Regions from separate parts of the Homo sapiens genome. Here regions 1 and 2 are each linked to region 3. The links are contacts of gene promoters, found by promoter capture Hi-C in human tissues and cell types (Jung and others, 2019). All regions are on one chromosome and are shown on one strand. Each heading gives the region's core, a stretch centred on a gene start or on the middle of the fragment in contact. The rest is flanking DNA. Distances are from core to core; before and after follow the strand shown.

The links. Contacts are between HindIII fragments. The study calls those that stand out against the background at their distance.
Region 1: a fragment that was not itself captured here is called in contact with the fragment with the promoter of TANC1 in region 3 in 1 of the 25 tissues and cell types used here (bladder).
Region 2: a contact is called between a fragment that was not itself captured here and the fragment with the promoter of TANC1 in region 3, in 1 of the 25 tissues and cell types used here (IMR-90 fibroblasts).

Annotation. Positions count from the first base shown.
Region 1 is chr2:159,138,082-159,140,781 of GRCh38, reverse strand. The region is part of intron 5 of TANC1 (tetratricopeptide repeat, ankyrin repeat and coiled-coil containing 1); the gene reads right to left. Among named protein-coding and RNA genes, the nearest start is that of MIR6888, 47 kb to the left of the region's middle. RefSeq lists an enhancer at 908-1,077. The HindIII fragment of the contact is 4,580 bases long and covers 1-2,700 here.
Region 2 is chr2:159,204,798-159,207,497 of GRCh38, reverse strand. The region is part of intron 19 of TANC1 (tetratricopeptide repeat, ankyrin repeat and coiled-coil containing 1); the gene reads right to left. Among named protein-coding and RNA genes, the nearest start is that of MIR6888, 19 kb to the right of the region's middle. The HindIII fragment of the contact is 3,711 bases long and covers 1-2,700 here.
Region 3 is chr2:158,967,203-158,969,902 of GRCh38, reverse strand. TANC1 (tetratricopeptide repeat, ankyrin repeat and coiled-coil containing 1) reads right to left here and starts at 1,263. Exons shown (of 27, transcript NM_033394.3): 1 at 1,121-1,263. RefSeq lists silencers at 1,228-1,307, 1,368-1,477. The HindIII fragment of the contact is 16,038 bases long and covers 1-2,700 here.

The DNA.
Region 1 (2,700 bases), core at 81-2,580, 170 kb before region 3:
GAGGCAGAGGTTGCAGTGAGCCGAGACTGTGCCACTGCACTCCAGTCTGGGCAACAAGAATGAAGCTCCATCTCAAAAAAAAAAAAAAAAAAAAATAGAGAATCTCCATCTGCTGAACTCCTAGTTCATCACACAGCTTGGATTAGTCATTACTTCCTCCTTTATTACAGTCACGCCATATACAGGTCTCTAATCCCCTGCCAGACTCTAAGGCTCCATAAAGACAGGACCCATGCTTGATAACCCATCTCAAATAGCATTTAGCATAGTGTTTTTTCACAGCATAGAAACTGAATACTTATTCAAGGAAATGCAGAATGAATGGATACTCTACTTCCAAGAGTCTCTCTTCTGTGCACACATACCAGGTATGCCCCTTTTCTATACTTCCATCAAATAAAACCTCATTCAACCATTGGTTGAATGTTGCACTGCCATTCTAAGAAGCTGAAAATTAAAGCAGGATCAAGGTTACCTCTTGGGAAAGAAAGGGTTTTAAGAAATAAAACATGACTATGCATTTTTTTCAATCATATTCTTTTTTTCACTTTTTTTTTTTTGAGACAGGGTCTCACTCTGTCTCCCAGGCTGCAGTGTAATGGTGTGATCATGGCTCACTGCAGCTTCCACCTCCCTGGCTAAAGAATCCTCCCACCTCAGCATCCTGAGTAGCTGGGACCAGAGAGGTGCACTGCTATATCTGGCTAATTTTTTGACTTTTTGTTGATATGAGGCCTTGCTACATTGTCCAGGCTGGTATCAAACTCCTAGGCTCAAGCAATTCTCCTGCCTTGGCCTCCCAAAGTGCTGGGATTATAAGGGCGAGCCACCACACCCAGCCCCTTTATGCTTTATACCTCTTTAATCCTCTATACCTGTCTGACCATCTAAAATGGTAATAAAAAACATAAGGTATCAAAATATTTACTTAAGCATATAACTAAAGACCCTCTCCTCCCAGAAGATAGTTTCACATTGAATTATTCTGCTCTTTCATATGTGTTAGCTTTATTTGCTTAGTCAGACTGCCAGGAAAAAAGTTTCGTCACTGACTGACATGAAGATATCATTTAAAAAAAGTTTCATCATATTTTGAGATTGATCTTCACAGAGCAATGACTTATGAGACTAAAAACTTTCTAGCCCCTCCTCAAAACTTGCCCTAGTAGCTAGAAATATATTAATGCAAACCTAAATAAATTATGGTTACCCCTAAATCAAAGAAATAAAGCGTGGATCCTGTTATAACAATCATCTCTAATTTATCTGAAGGTTTTTTTTCCCTTAACGCAGATATTGTTTGTGGGTAAATGAGCTTTCCCCTAAACGATATGTTGATTTAGCAATAGGAAGCTTACTCATTAAGAACTTATTCTACCTGACACACAGCTTATTAGGACCATTTGACATGAAAATGGGCTTTGTATTTTGTTTGATGATTTTATTAAGTCATCCGTTTTTCCTAGAGTAGAAAATGCTGTGTTTCAAATATATTTAAACATACTAAGATAGAATGTTTTTTCCTAAAGATGTTTCCAGGTGAGTGCAAACTCCTTCCTTTCCTTCCTTTCTTTTTTAAAGAGACAAGGTCTCACTATGCTGCTCAGGCTGTTCTCAAACTCCCAGTCTCAAGCAATCCTCCCACCTCGGCCCCCTGAATCACTGGAATTACAGGTGTGAGCTACAGTCCCCAGCTTGCAAGCTTTAAGAAACAAGTTATTTGCTTACAAAAAAAAATTCATCTTCTTACATCATCGAACCCACACTTCCCAGAAGGCTAAAACGTGCATCACACATAAATGCAATTACTTATAAATAAGCAAATTCAAAATGTTCTTTGGTTTGTTTTCCTTTGATTTAAAATCCAAACAGAGAGCTAAGAATCAAGAGTTGATGGAGCTACATGACCAAAGCAAAAGTGAGGCAGGAAAGTATTTCAAGCATTTAGGAATAACCTGCTATTTCACGAGTCCATGGGAAATTTCAAAAGCACTTCACAAAGAGCTGTTTTCAGTGGAGTCTGTTAGTCTGGTGAATACTGGCATGCTATTATTGACAGCACCCAGAAAAGCGTCTTAGAAACTTAAACAAGAATGTCCAAGGGAAATATAGATAACAGAAGACCACATTTTAAAGTAAAACTTAAGTGATGATGCTGATATTAAACCCTAAAAATGAGGGTTTGCCCATCATGTATCTGTACACACCTGGGTTAACACTCAAACTCAATTAGTTTTAGTCGGCTCTATCATTTCCTTTGGGTTCAGTGATCTGGATAAAATTTACACTTTGACATGGCAGACTTAATTAACCCCATTGAAATTTAAGGGACTCCATGGGGATTACAAAACATACCATTCTATACTAATTGTCCTGTTCGACTTTGTTAGGCAGCCACCTCTCCTCATCAACCAAGAGAAAGCTCACCCTGCTGCGGCATCCACCAACATCATGGCTATCTTCAGGCAAGACCATGCACCCACAGACGTGAACTACACCTGCTCCCGAGACACTTAACAAAAATGAAAACATACCCTGCTTCTTAATTTCAGGCGAAACCGAAATGTCTGGTCCTGTATTTGTAGCCCATAGATCTCATAACTTTGGTCCCCATGAAGACTAAAGATGCCGAATCAGAAAGCTCAGGTCTCAGGAGTGAGCACACATGCAAACTTCAGGCCACTCCAGCAAGACCAATTG
Region 2 (2,700 bases), core at 114-2,613, 240 kb before region 3:
GAACTCCTGACCTCGTGATCCACCCGCCTCAGTCTCCCAAAGTGCTGGGATTACAGGCGTGAGCCACTGGACCTGGCCAGTCTGAGTTCTTAGCTCCTACAATGCTGCCTCCAGGAAGTCACCTTTAAAAATATCTAAAGCATCCAACAGCCTTCTATGAGAGTTGTTTAGAATGAAAGTACCAGAAAGTGCTTCTCTTTTTCTGAGGAACTGCTGCGATTTCTCCCATGGACAATAAAAATGGTTTACAAGGATTGTGTTCCCCTCTAATTCTGGCCACATGGCATTCCACAGCCACAGTAGTAGCTCAATTTAGTATGCCATGGCACGAATGTTTGAGCGGTTCCTCATGTCCTATTCCTGACTTAGTGTTTTAAAGTTCTTATCTGCATCATTTCAAGTAAGTCTCTTCAAATCCTTTGAGGAATAATGTGTGTGCTATAAATAATGTAACCTCAATTTAAAAATAATTTCCTAAAAGATCAACAACATAAGCCATCTTTCATACAGACTTTGTTCTTCTAAGAATCCATGAGAAGACCGGACCTTTGGACAGCTGTCACTTCTAAAGTGTGCTGAGAATGTTCGCATGTGGAAGGCTGGGTTACACACCAAGTTATTTAAAGCAGGCATAAGGTTCTCTCTCTCCTCTCGGTAAGGGCTAAGCTTGTGCTGAGGACTTCATTACATGCCAGGACACCACATGAGGTCTCAGTGTAAAAAGGGGGCATTTCCACAAAAGCATTTTACACAACCTCACATCTGGCCCCCAAAACACAGAAAGAATCCAAATATCATTTCAAGAAGAAACAAGGATGATTTTTCTGTGGGAGTGTAATCCTTCCCAAAATATGAATGAATACATTTTTCTGTTGAAGGCAGAAGTATTTTTTATTAAATACTCAGGAATCACTCACTAGAAAAATGGACTCTGTACAGCAAGAACAGCTTGATGAAGGTGGTCAAGGGGCTAATTTGTTCGTGCTTGAGACACCACCCCTGGGTTTCTACCTGCTCACTGCTGGCCACTCAGCCTGCCCTACAGGGCGGGGACATGCTGACCTGACCCCTCTGCCTTCTTCGCAGAGAGGAGTGGTCTCCGGAACCCACCCACATCAGGGGCAAAACCCAGGGGTCTGTGAGACCAGGAGGATAGGGTATGGACAAACCCAGCCCCCTCAGTTCTGATCCCCTATCTGCCTCCACTGTTTGGAGGACCCCCATACACATCCTCCTCCATCCAGAGCCCTGTTACCCCTTCCATGTTGGTAACCCCACTTTGTCCCTCCCCTTACAGGGCACAGGGTCACCCCACCCCATCTTGCTCCTTTCAGGATCCTGGGTGGTCCCTCCCACGCACCCTTGAGGGTACTGGCTTACTCCCCATCGTGTTGCTTTGCCGAGGATAGTTCTGACTGACAGCAGTCTGGACTTCCATGCCCACTAATCTTACTGAACCTTCTTAGAACAAACACTTGCAGAGGAAGGAATGCCTTGATAAAAAATTTCCAAAACCAGTACTGGTGAGATGCTCAGGACCTCTGAAAAATCCAGTATCTTCAGTGTACGACAGCAAGTCGCAGTTTTCTCTACAGCATCCTCCATGTGCGTTCCATGTAACACATATTCTCCACATGCCCCAACAAGCCATGGGCAAACGCTTTCCTTCCAATCTCTCACCTGAAATTCTGTCCTGAGATGTGCATGCATCACCTAATGAGGTGGATACTTCCTGAGAAAGGCCACACATCATCAATGACAGGGATGCATCCTGAGAAATGAGTCGTTAGGTGATTGTATCATTGTGCTAATACCACATAGTGGACTTACACAAACTTCGATGGTGTAGCCTACTACATGCCTAGACTATATGGTACAGCCTTTTGCTCCTAAACTGCTAAGCTGTACAGCCTGTTACTGTAGTGGATACTGTAGGCAGCTGTAACACGGTGGTACTTGTGTAACAAAACATAGAAAAAGTAGCAACATAGAAAAAATAAAGACACAGTATTGTATGGGAACACCTTCTCACATGCAGTCCATCGCTGACAGAAACATCATTATGTGGGGGATGGCTGTATATGTGACTGCAAGGCTCAATCCAGTAGGCCTGACATTTATTTTACATTCTTACCAAAGAACAGCCCCTTCTCTCTCCAAAATGCCTAAGGTAAATTCAAATGAAGAACGGGTCATTTTTACACCAACAGTAATTAGGCATCCAGCTCCCTGTGCTCTGGGGCAGCCTTGGATGTGGGAAGCCCACCGTCCACGCCTGGGGCCTCCCTGTGACTGAAGCCAAAAGAGCCACAAAAGGGGAAAGGAAAGCAGTCCCATGGAAACAAGAGGGAAACGAAAATCATCAAAGTGTCAAATACAACAGGACCCAGCTTCGCAGCCCAATTTGGAAACAGGTGTGAGGACCCCACCCCCAAGAGGGGCCTGGAAACACCCACCCCAGCTGCAGGGCACTGCCTGAGGCTCAAGATCCAGAGGGAGCAGGTTCTGTCCAAAATTCCATCCAGAATTAGTGAACAGTAAACTACGGTGAGCACACATGCCAAGTGGAATTGCTTCAATGCGCTACACAAAGGGAGGCCTACGACGCAGCTAAATAGCCCATTCAATTCACAGCGGAGAAAATCTGGCCCATCTGAACAGAGGCAAATAGTAGCTTTGACAATAAAAATTATTTACCTG
Region 3 (2,700 bases), core at 14-2,513:
CAGCAGGGAACAACGCCACTGAGAACGGTCCCAACACTGGAGGCACGCGGATCTGGAGCTGGCAGGAGGGGGCTGGGAGAAGGCCGTTGCCGAGCCTGGCGTCCTCCGCCCCTTGGCCGCAGCGCCGCGTTTCTACCTGGCCAACGCCACATTTCCTCCCGGAGCTTTACACAATAAGTCCAGTAAGTTTTGAGAACACCGGTCCAGGGACCTTTCTGTCTGCAAACACACCACACAATGCCTAGAGCTTCCTTCCCAGCCAGGCGTTCCGGAAAGCCGCCGCGCCAAAGCCGGGAGCCCCGCACACCCACAGCGCTGCGCGCCCGCACCCCAAAGTCCTCCAGGAAGCCAGTGCCCTGATATCGTCCCCCGAAAATGACCACTCTGCATCCAAGAACAAGGGGGCTCACAATCTTGACAATTACCGCTCTTCTCAGCGCCCCACCCCTAAAGAAAAACCCCCAACGTCTAATCCTAACTCACCCCCACCCCCAATAAAGGAGTGTGGATATGCTAATCGCAGTGTTCTTGGAAGCAAAGCAATAGACTTTCAGCCCAGACTGGGGCAATACCATGCCTCCGGCTTAAGTTCTCTCGGCAACTTCGCGACCCGCGCACCCCAACACTCCGGGGGGCGCCCAGGACCCCGCGGTGCCAGGCGCGCCTCCCCCCGCCTCCCCCGCGCCAGGTACCAGGCGTAGCCCAGGCCCTTGCCAAGCCCGAGGGCTACAGAGAAGGCGGGAAAGGGGGCGAGCGGGCGCGCCGGGCGGGGGTGGTCCCAGAACTCGAGCGTGCCCCAAGCGTTCCCGGTTCCCACCACACCGGTTCCAGGGGAGGCCGGCTCGGTCCGGCGCGGGGGAACCGCGCAAGGAAGGTGCGGACTCCCCAAAGCCGCCGAGAGACCAAGGCCCGGGGCGCCCAACATGTCTGTGCCTATTCCCGGAAAGCTCCCGGGTGTGCCCGGCGGAGGAGGGGGCGCTCCAGAAACTTTCCCACACGCCTTTCCCTTCTCCCATCACCCTCTCCACCCCGGGTCCCTCTCGACCTCTCCGCACACTGGCAGCTGGCCATGCCCGGGGCGCTCGCAGGCCCGCGGCGGAGTCCGGGCTGCGGGAGTTACCTGCCGGGAAAGTTTCCAGCTCCTCAGCGCGGTTCCCCACACCCAGGGCCGGGCCTCGGGGCGAGGCCAGCTCGGCGCTCCGCGGCTGCCTCTCCTCCGGCTCCCGAGGCGGCCGCCGCTCCAGCAGCTGCCACAGCAAAGCCTCCGCTCCGGCCCGTCCCCCCGCCTTGCTCGGCCCACACCGGGGCCTCATTGGCAGCGCGAATCCCCGCCCTTGCGCGTGTTCCCGAAGGCACCTTCCTCTCGCGCGCCCGCCCCGGCCGCGCCTCCCGCGCCCCTCCCCGCCCCGGGCTGCGGCGGATCCAGGGACCGGCTGGAGCGCGGAGCGCGAACTTTCCGCGGGGCTTGGGCGCGAGGTCCCCTTGTCCCGCCTCTCGGCGCCAGGTCCGGGCCTGAAGCACCCTACCATCCCTCTGGGCACCGGGTCCCCCGGGGCTGCGCCTAGGCCCCTCTGGGACCAAAATGAGATGGGCCATAGTCTTTTTTACAGCCTCTTCAAAATCAATAAAGCGACCCGGCCTTCCCTCCTCGCTGCTTTTTTACCACAGCCGAGGAGGACATATGGGAGCAATTAACCGAGCTGGAGTTTCCGTGGACGCTTTGGGGTGGCTTGTGCGGCTTTCTTGGATTTTCTCTGCCTCACTTAACTACACACAAACACAAACACACTTTCTGGGGCCAGAATCAGCTAAATGAGCTGGAAGGTCTAAGAAGGCATCTCACCGGCTGCGTCTTTTTATTTCCCAAAAGGAATGGGGGACGTTCTGGGGCCGGTGATTTCCCGGGCGTCCCTGGGGCCGCGGGTCTGGAGCCTCCTGCGACCGCTCCGGGCTGGCCCGTGCTGTCTGCGCTACATTCACAGAGGGCCAGCGTCGTGCTTCTGTCGGAAGGAGGTGGGAGGGACGGAGGGGAGAGAACACACAAAGATGCTATTATTTTGTCGGTTGGTGGCAGTAAATTAAACTCCTGAGTTCCCAAAATGTTTTGTTATTCTCCAGCAGAGCAAAAACCAGGATAGGGACTAGGGATTCGGGTGTCCTGGGTTCTCCAAGATCCTCCCAGGAATCCCAGGCAGCCAAATTGGCCTAAGGGACTCTGCTCACTTAATACCCGAAGCTCTCTAAGACAGCCTTCGTTGATCTAGTTGACGAAGGAAGGATCAACTAGAACTGCCGCTGCCTTGTGTGGCCAGCGGGAATTGTGCACGGGTCACCCCATTGGTGTGTCTGGAGCAGAGAATAGAGAAGTTGCTGTAAACCGATTTATTGGTAACCCCTAACCTTGCTGTGGCAAACCCGCCTTAAAATACGATTGTGTTTTAAACAAGTTTCCTCATAAAAACTTCAACCTCACGCAGAGCTTCCCTATATAAAGACACCAGCAGGAGGGGTGTCCATATTTAAAGTTCTTATGAAAAGGGACAGGAAGCAAAATGCCACACAATCTCTTTTCATAAATTAAAAAGACTGAAATGGACTGGATTTTTCACCCATAGTTTCAAAGGCCTGATTACTGCTGTGTTGATATTTGAGCAGTAAACACATCAGCGGCCTTGAAGTATTCCCGAAACAAGGCAGGAT